Regions from separate parts of the Homo sapiens genome. Here region 1 is linked to region 2. Evidence: promoter capture Hi-C in 16 types of primary human blood cells and fetal thymus (Javierre and others, 2016). All regions are on one chromosome and are shown on one strand. Each heading gives the region's core, a stretch centred on a gene start or on the middle of the fragment in contact. The rest is flanking DNA. Distances are from core to core; before and after follow the strand shown. Region 1 has its middle 280 kb from the start of LINC02655. Region 2 holds the start of PRXL2A (peroxiredoxin like 2A).

What was found. Contacts are between HindIII fragments. The CHiCAGO score rates a contact against its expected background, and 5 or more counts as called.
Region 1: a fragment that was not itself captured here is called in contact with the fragment with the promoter of PRXL2A in region 2 in 1 of 17 cell types (M2 macrophages); the score reaches 7.4 in M2 macrophages.

The regions. Positions count from the first base shown.
Region 1 is chr10:80,927,560-80,931,934 of GRCh38, reverse strand. No RefSeq gene overlaps it. Among named protein-coding and RNA genes, the nearest start is that of LINC02655, 280 kb to the right of the region's middle. The HindIII fragment of the contact is 4,058 bases long and covers 59-4,116 here.
Region 2 is chr10:80,407,123-80,411,875 of GRCh38, reverse strand. It overlaps PRXL2A (peroxiredoxin like 2A), which reads right to left and starts at 3,325. Exons shown (of 6, transcript NM_032333.5): 1 at 3,233-3,325. RefSeq lists enhancers at 1,032-1,531, 2,378-2,971 and a silencer at 3,257-3,546. The HindIII fragment of the contact is 7,614 bases long and covers 1-4,753 here.

The DNA of each region.
Region 1 (4,375 bases), core at 838-3,337, 520 kb before region 2:
AATCTCATTTTCAATTATAGGTCTATTTATATTTTCTATTTCTTCTTTTTTTAAAGCTTTATTGAGATATAATTCATACACTGTACAGTTTTCCCATTTAAACTGTACAACTCAATGGTTTTAAGTACATTTTACAGATATGTTTAATTATCACCAGAGTCAAATTTATAACATTTTTATGACCTCAAGAAAGAAACTCTATCCCCTTTAGCTATCATCCTACTTTCATCCTGTGTTCCCCTGCTCCACACCCAAGCCTAAGCAACTACTATGTTCCAACTCTATAGGTTTCACTATTTAAAACTTTCATATAAATGGATTCATATAATATGTGCTCTTTTGTGACTGACTTCTTTCACTTAATATAATGTTTTCAAGGTTTATTCATGTTGTAACATGTATCAGTTCTTTATTATTTTTATGACTAAAGAATATTTTGTTCATTCATTTTGGGTTCCTTCTGCCTTTTGGAAATTATGAATAATGCTGCTATAAGTATTTGTATACAAGTTTCTATGTGCACATATGTTTTTACTCTTCTTGGGTACACACCTAGGATTGGAATTTCTGGATCATATAGAAAGTCTGTCTTTAATCATTTGATGAACTGCCAGATTGTTTTCCAAAGTGGCTGCACCATTGTACATACTCGACAGTATATGAGGTTCCAATTTCTTCAACTCTTCAGCAACATTTGTTTTTATCTGACTTTCTGATTACAACCATCAAGGGGGTGTAAAGTGGTACCTCATTGTGGTCTTATTTGTATTTACCTGATGACGAATGATGTTGAGTGTCCTTTGTTTATTGACCATTTGTGGTCTTTCTTGCAGATATTTCTATTCAAATAATTTGATTGTATTTTAACTTGATTGTCTTTTTATTATTAATTGACAAAATTTTTAAATTTTTTTAGGTATAGATTATCAGATTGCAAATATTTACTTCCATTCTGTTGTCTTTTCACTTTTTTGATGGTGTCCTTTGAAGCAAAAAGTTTTTAATTGCAATTAGGTCTAGCTTATTTCTTCTCTCATTGCTCATGCTTTTAGTGTCATATCCAAGAATATTTTGCCAAATTCAAGGTCAGGAAGATTTACCGCTACGTTTTATCATAAGAATTTTACAGTTTAGCTCTTACATTTAGGAATCTGGTCCATGTAGAGTTAATTATTGCATATGGTATAAGGTAGGGGTCCAACCTCATTCTTTTGCATGTGACATTCCAATTGTCCCAGCACTATTAGTTGAAAAGATTTCTTTCTCCTTCTAATGGTCTTAGGACCCTTGATGAAAATCACTCAACCATAAATGTATGGGTGTATGTATGGACTCTAAATTCGATTTCATTCAGCTATACGTCTATCCTAATGCCAGTATACAACCTTGCTTACTGTTGCTTTATAGTAACTATTGAAATAAAAAAAAGTATGAGTCCTCCACTTTGTTCTTTTTTTCCCCCAAGGTTATGGATCACTTGGAATTCCATATAAGTTTTAGAATTAGCTTGTCAATTTCTACAAATAAGTAATTCAGGATTCTTACAGTGATTGCATTGAATCTGTTAGAACAATTTGGGAATTATTGCCATCTTAATGTTAAATCTTCAGATTCATGAACATGGAATGTTTATCCACTTATGTAGGTCTTCTTTAATTTCTTGCACAATATTTTACAGGTTTCAGGGTACATGTTTTTGCATTTCTTGTTTAGTTTATCACAAAGAATTTTATTATTTTCAATGTTGTAAACAAAATATTTCTCTTAATTTTATTTTCAGATTATTTATTTCCAGTGTACAGAAATACAACCGATTTTTTAAATTTTGTAATCATGCTTAATTCATTTATTCTAATGGATTTTTAGTGGATTCTTTGGGATTTTTTTATATATAAGATATTGTCATCTGTAAACAGAGAGAGCTTTATTTCTCCCTTTCTATTTTGAATGTCTTCTATTTTTGTTTTTGCCTAATTTCCCTGGCTAGATCCTCTAGGAAAACATTAAGTAGAAGTGGTGAGAGTGACATCCATGTCTTGTTCCTGATCTTAGGAGCAAAGCATCAGTCTCCTACCATGAAGTATGATGTTGGCTCTGGGTTTCTCATAGATGTTGTTATTGGCTGAATGTTCATGTTTCTGCAAAATTAATATGTTTAAATTTAACCCCAATGTGGTAGTATTAGGGCCTTTGAGAGGTAATTATGTGATGAGGGTAAAGCCCAAACAGTGTGATTAGTGCCCATATAAGAATAAGCCAGAGAGTTAGCTTGCTCTTTCTGCCATGTGAGAATACAACAAGAAGTTAGCAGTCTACCAGAAGAGGGCCCTCACAAGAACTTGACCATGCTAGTTCCATGATTTTAACTACCAGCCTCCAGAACTGTGAAAAATAAGTTTCTGTTGTTTGTGGGCCACCCAGCTTATGGTATTTTGTTATAGCAGCTGAGCTAAGACAATAAAATTCTAGTTATTTTCTTAGTGATACCTGGGGATTATAATTAACCTCTTAAACTTATAACAATCTATTTTTAATTAATTCAATTTAGGCTCAATAATATACAAAATCCCTGCTTCTATACAGGCTACCCTTGCCCCTTTATGTTGTCACAAATGACATCTTTATTCATTGTGCTCCAATTAACATAGATTTACAATTTTTATGTATTTGTCTTTTAAATCATTTACAAATGGAAAGAGTTACAAATGAAAAATTCCACAATACTGGCTTTAGTATTTACATATGTTGCTACCTTTGCCAGGGTTCTTTCTTTCTCATATGATTTCAAGTTACTTTCTTGTGTCTTTGCTTTTGCCTGAAGGACTCTCTTTATCATTTCATGTGTTACATGTTTGCTAGTGACGAACTCCCATCACTTTTGTTTATCTGAGGCTCTCCTAACTTTCCCTCCATTGTTGAAAAAGAATATTGCTGAATATGGAATTCTTGAGTAACAGATATTTTTTCCTTCAGCACTTTTACTATGTCATCCCACTGCCTTCTGACTTCCAGTTTCTGCTAAAAATTGGCTGTCAATGTCATTGAGGGTACCTGGTATGTGACAGTCACTTTCCTATTGCTGCTTTCAGATTTTCTTTATTTTTAACTTTTGACAGTTTGATCATAACATAGCTCAGTGTGGACCTCTTTGCATTTATCCATCCTGGAGTTCAATGACCTTCTTAGATATGTAGTTTTGTGTCTTCTATCAAATTTGGGAAGTTTTCAGTCATTATTTCTTCAAATATTATTTCCCCATTCTCTCTTCTTTTGAGAGTCCCATTTTGAGTATATGTTGGATGGTGCCCCAAGGGTCTCTTAGGCTCTGTTTATTATCTTCATTCTCTTTTCTTTGTGCTACTCTTTCTTAATAATTTTAATTAACCTACCTTCAAATTTGCTGATTCTTTCTTCTGCCTGCTCACATCTGCTATTGAAATCCTCTAGTGGATTTTTTACTTCATTTATTATCATTCTCAGCCCCAAAATTCTTGCTGTGTTTCTTTCTATAACTTATAATTCTTTGTCAATATTTCCTATTTGGTGAGACATAGTTCTTCTGGTTTCTTTTAACTCCTTGAGCATATTTAAAACAGTTGACTTAAAATCTTTGTCTAGTAAGTCATTCAATGTCAGTGATTTCTCAGGAACAGTTTCTGTAGTTTCCCCTATGCATGTGCTATACCTCTTTTATTTGCATGCTTCTTATTTTTTTGTTGAAAACCAAACATCTTGGAATATTATAATGTGGCAACTCTAGAAATATGATTTTTCTTCCCTCTCCAGGGTTTGTTTTTGCTGCTTACTTTGGGTAGAGTTGTTTGCTTAGTGACATTTCTAATAATTTTTGTAAAGTCTAATTCTTTGTCATGTGTAGTCTCTGAAGTCTCTGTTCCTTTAGCTTGGTCAGCTAGGGTATTTACCGTGTCCACCTGGGATAAAGAAAGAAAAAGCAGGAAGAGAGAGAGGAAAGAAGAGAAAGAAACTTTCCCAGTCTTTGGAGATTGGCTCTGTGTTGGGACACTGATTTAATGCTTAGCCAGGCAATTTAGAACTCTGCCTTAGCCTTCTTTAACTGTTTGTGCTGAGCCTAGGGGTCATCCAGAGATAAAAGCTTAGGGTCTTTTCAGATTTTTTTCTGAGCACACGTTTTATGCCAAGCTTGTGTGTGACTTTCAAAAGTCCCTGATATACATGGGTGATATTCTTTCCCTAATTTCCCAAAGAATCTTTCTCCCAGGCTTTCAGCGTGTGTACTATTTGTGTCAACTGTAATCTTTAGCCCCAGATAGCACCGGGTTGCTCATTTGCCTTACAATGTTTTCAAGAAATACCCTAGGTATAGGTGCTTTCCTGCCCTGAAAAAGTTCAAAAC
Region 2 (4,753 bases), core at 2,076-4,575:
CAGCCCCACCCAGGGAATCGTCCCTCTTCAGAATGAGCTGGCCTGAGGCAGAGATAGGGGAGAAGCAAGAAAAGGTGCTGAGGGAGACAAAAAACTAAGAGTGCACATGGGCCTCCTTGCCTCAGGCCCTCAGTGAACAAGTCTTGAAAGGATGCTTCATCTTCCTTCTCTGGTCTCCTCTGTTTCCCTCTCCTTCCCTCAAAGCGCTGGTTCAGCTCATTTTACTGAGCAAATGAAGAAACTAAAGCTCAGAGAAGGAGCTGGCTAGTCCAAGGTCACATGGGCAGGGCAGGTTGTCAGTGGCTGCACTGGGACTCAGGTTTGGGTCTCCCAACTTCCAGTCCATGACTGTTTATCCTGCATCAGACACGCTAGGTCCTGGGCAGCCAGCCAAGGGCCAGTGGCCTCTAAGGCTGGAATAGCATGGCAGTCTGGGCTCAGGAAGTGGGGCCCTGCAGGTCTTGAAGCCTGTTCACTGGCCTCAGGCAAGCTAAGAGCAAGACTGCCCGTAAACAGGGCCTGGGAAATCTGCTGCCTGGAGAGAACATCATCAGCCTCTCCCAAGCCCAATCCTTGGTAAGCAGCTTATAATCTGAAGCCAAATGTCTTAAGGGTCTCATTGCCTAGTCTCCGCTGAGAAGCCATTCTGCACCTCTCTTCCCCACAATAACAAGACTCTGTCCATCCTTGTCTAGCATACTGATGATGCAGGCACACAGAGCCTTATGAGCAACAGATGCCCTTCCACCCACCCTTGTCTTCATATACCACAAAATCAGTCACTTGCAATGAGCTCTCACCTACCTGCCTCAGTCTCCAACTCTCAGCCCTGCTCCTTGGGGTGTGTATCTGCCTGGTTCTGGCCCAGTCCTACTCTCAAATGCCAGATTCAGAAACCTCTGAATAGATGCTGAAAGCAGCACCAGCCCCCACATTCCTCACTCTTGGGCGTATCTCAGGGTTTCCCAGTAGCTGATTATGTCCTCTTGTTTCCTCAAGCTGTAGGGCCCCCCACCCCTCAAAGAGCAAGCCATTCTAATCTCACTTGCACAGCCTCCTGTCTGGGCTCAGAACTCCGGCTTCATCAAGTTATATGGGTGTGGATAGGAAGGCAAGGCAATACCACAGAAGACACTGGGCTAAAAGCCAATAATCCTGGGTTTTCTCTCTTTGACTCTGAGAGTTATTTTATCCCTCTGAACCTCAGTGTCTTCTTAAAAACAAGGGCACTTTAAAGAGTTGTCATAAAGATTATATAAGAAGAGCAATTTTTAATGCGGTAACGCACTAGAAAACGGCAAAGCAGCATTATCTTTCTCTCTTTTGCAGGGCTCAGATTCACTCGTGCCCCTATAAAGACAGGATATCTGAAGCAGGACAGGCACAAAATAGTGAACTTCTGCAGCTGTGTCACTGCAGGCCTGCTTTCTGGTGAACGTTCTAGGTCTGGTGGGAACACTGGCTTGTCTCAGCCCCTCTGGCCTGCAGGCCCGCTCCATGCTATTCCTGTAGCAGCTAACACTGCCTCCTGCACTAGCAGTGCCAGAGAAGGCAAAGGACACTGCCCAGCTGTAATTTCCCTGTGCCAGAGGCCACTGAGCTCAAAGGTGAGGCTGGCTCTCTGCACAGAACCTCAGGATGGTTCTTGCCACACAAGCCACAGCAGAGAGACTTGGAGCTTCTGCTCAACATTTCACAAAGAAGCAAGAACCCAACTGGCAGGACAGCTGCCCTATTGCTTAGATAGGGACAGAGCCTGGGGCTTGAGCCCTAGAGTTCCAGTCCTATCCAAACTTTCTGAGCACCATTTAAATGACACGAGATGAGAAAATCATCAGAAATGTCTTTTGTACCCCTTCAGAAGTAATGCAGAAGGTCTCAACTAAATGACATGCTCTTATAAAAGACGGGGATATAGGAAAGGCCCACACCAAGAATAATATCTAACTTTAATTCTTGCAAGCTGTATAAACCTGGACAAGGAACTGTTTTGCATCAGTAAAATGGGAATGCTTCCTTAATTACCTTCTACAGAGTTGCAAGAATCAAAGGATTAAATGTATAGGAGGTGCCTTGTGAGGTACCTTACAAAAAGTGCAATAAATACGATGTATAATTCTTCATTTCTAGAGCAATGATTACCCTCAAAACGTTATTTGTACACAAAATGAAGAGTTTTCTGATGAATGAGTATGGTAACGAGTCGGGGTCTGCAGTGGAAATCCCAATCCTCATTCTCCAAAGCTGGGCCCGAGCAGGAGCATTCAAGACTATTCAAGCTGACTTTTTCACAATGCTTTTCAAAACAAATCTTGATTATTTTCTTTTTGAAAAACCACCTGCCAGGTTCAAAGGAAAATACATTAAAATAAAACAAACAAAAAAGCTGAGTTCTGGGTTGCTGGGCTGTGCAGACAGCATGATGTGGCAAGGAAAAGAGGCGCAGGAGCAGCTGGGAACCCCGGTCCGGCAGTGGACTCCCGGGTGTGCCTCCTTCCCACAGCCCTGGACCGGCTGGGCCTTGACTTCCCTTCCTTTGCCTCTAACCATCTCCACCTGCGCCTTCACCTCCCGCTCCAGCAACAACCCTGGGGGCAGATTGTTCATCTTTTCATTCCTAGACCTCAGCAGGGCTGTTAAGTTTACAACTGGGCTCTACCCAATTTAAAGTCAGGCGTTTGTGACTCTTGGGAAAGAGGGGGAACAGGTGCCTCCGAAACGCTGAACAACGCTAGAAACCGTGCCCTCTTAAAAGACACGACCCTAAGCGGGCACAGAGACGAGGACGAGGACTGCCAGGTCCGCACCTGGGGCTGGTCCAGCAGGGCGGCCCCCGGGCCCATGCTCCAGGGCAGGGCCCTCTCCTCTGTTCTTTGTCCCAACAATTCGCGAAGGTTGGCGCCACCGGCGTCACTCAAGGCTTGCGGGCGTGGACAGAGGGGGCCCTAGCCCGCCGCAGCAGCGCCGGGTCCCCGTCTCCGTTCTCCGACGTCTGGGCGCAGGGTTTTTCCATCGGCCGCCACGCAGGGTGGCGGAAGGGTCGTCGTCCTCGGAGGGAGCGCCAGCGCTGCGGCGGCTCCTAAGAAAGTTGGCGCGGGCCCGAGGGGCGCGCCTCACCAGCCCAGCACCCACCCTACCGGCCCTGCACTGCCTCAGTTTCCCCACCTACGCCGCGGCAGGCCCCGCCTACGGACATCACGTGCCTCGCGGAGCCCCGGCGCGCAGCACCTACCTCAAGTGCCTCCCTTCTGCCGGCCTTTTACCGCCCCGACGCCCGGGCGCTAAGGGGCCAAACCGCCCGGCCCGGAGGGTCCCAGGGGCGGGCCCCGCGCTTGCGCAGCCTCTAGCCTGTGCTGCATCGCGCGCTACCGCGCCACCGCCATGTGACCCGCCCCGCCCCCCGTGGGAGGAGCTCCGGGCCTGCCCCCGACTCGCCGACCTCCGGGCCGCGGTCTCCTAGCTCCGGTGGCGCTCGGGCGTGTGCCCCAGCGGTCCTTTTACGCACAGCGCTCGGTCGGTCCACTCCTCAAGTCCGCGAACCGAGGCCCCGACGCGTTCTTCAGGGCGCTGCCTAGGGCAAAAGAAGGCGCTGGACACCCCTAATGGAGCCTGGAAGCACCTGTCCTGCAGCCGAGGCTGGCCAACTTCCTTCCAATCTTCAGCCTGGTTTTGAATAGCTCTTTTGATAGGTTTTTTTTTTTTTTTTAACCTCCATGGGCAGGGGGAATCTAAAGGACCGACACATTCGATGAGCCCCTTCAAGCTGTATGTACAGATTCAGAATTTCCAACCTCAATCCTCCACCCACGTTCCCTTTCACTCCACAATGCCAGCTATGGGGCAGAGAACGGTGAGCCGCAGCCTTGCGGACTCCGGGCGACGCTGAGGCGGGTGTGTCACACACCGCTCATCCACTTACTCCTCCTGTTGGAAGTGCCCACTCTTTCATGAAAGTAGGAGGTTGTGTCCGGCGCGCTGGCTCACGCCTGTAATCTCAGGGCTTTGGGAGGATCGCTTGAGCCCAGGAGTTCAAGACCAGTCTGGGCACCATAGTAAGACTCCATCTCTACGTAAAAAACAAAAACTAGCCAGGCATAGTGGCGCGTGCCTGTATTTCCAGCTACTCTGGAGCTGAGGTGGGAGGATCGCTTGAACCCGGGAGGCGGAGGTTGCAGTGAGCCCAGATCGCGCCACTGCACTCCAGCCTGTCTTTAAAAAACAAAAAAAAGACCCTGTCTTAACAACAAAAAACAAAAAGTAGGAGGTTGGACTTTCAGAGACAGCAGAGCTGACTCACGATACATATTAGTGGTTGGCCGGGCTCGGTGTCTCATGCCTGTAATCCCAACACTTTGGGAAGCCAAGGCGGGCAGATCACTTGAGGGCAGGAGTTCGAGACCAGCCTGACCAACATGGCAAAACCTCGTCTCTACTAAAAATACAAAAATTAGCCGGGTGTGGTGGCGCGCACCCGTAGTCCCAGCTACTCAAGAGGCTGAGGCAGGAGAATAGCTTGAACCCCGGAGGTGGAGGTTGCAGTGAGCCGAGATGGTGCCACTACACTCCAGCCTGGGTGACAGAGTGAGATTCCGTCTCAAAAAAAAAAAAAAAAGACATATCGGTGACACAGTGCAAAGACCAGTCACAGGGCAGCATAAGGTGAAGTGGCAAAGCAGGCCGATGTCCGCCCGTCAAAGGTGGTCATTTGCCTGCAACACCTTCCCCCCTTCATCTGGGAGCTGCCCACAGGTGT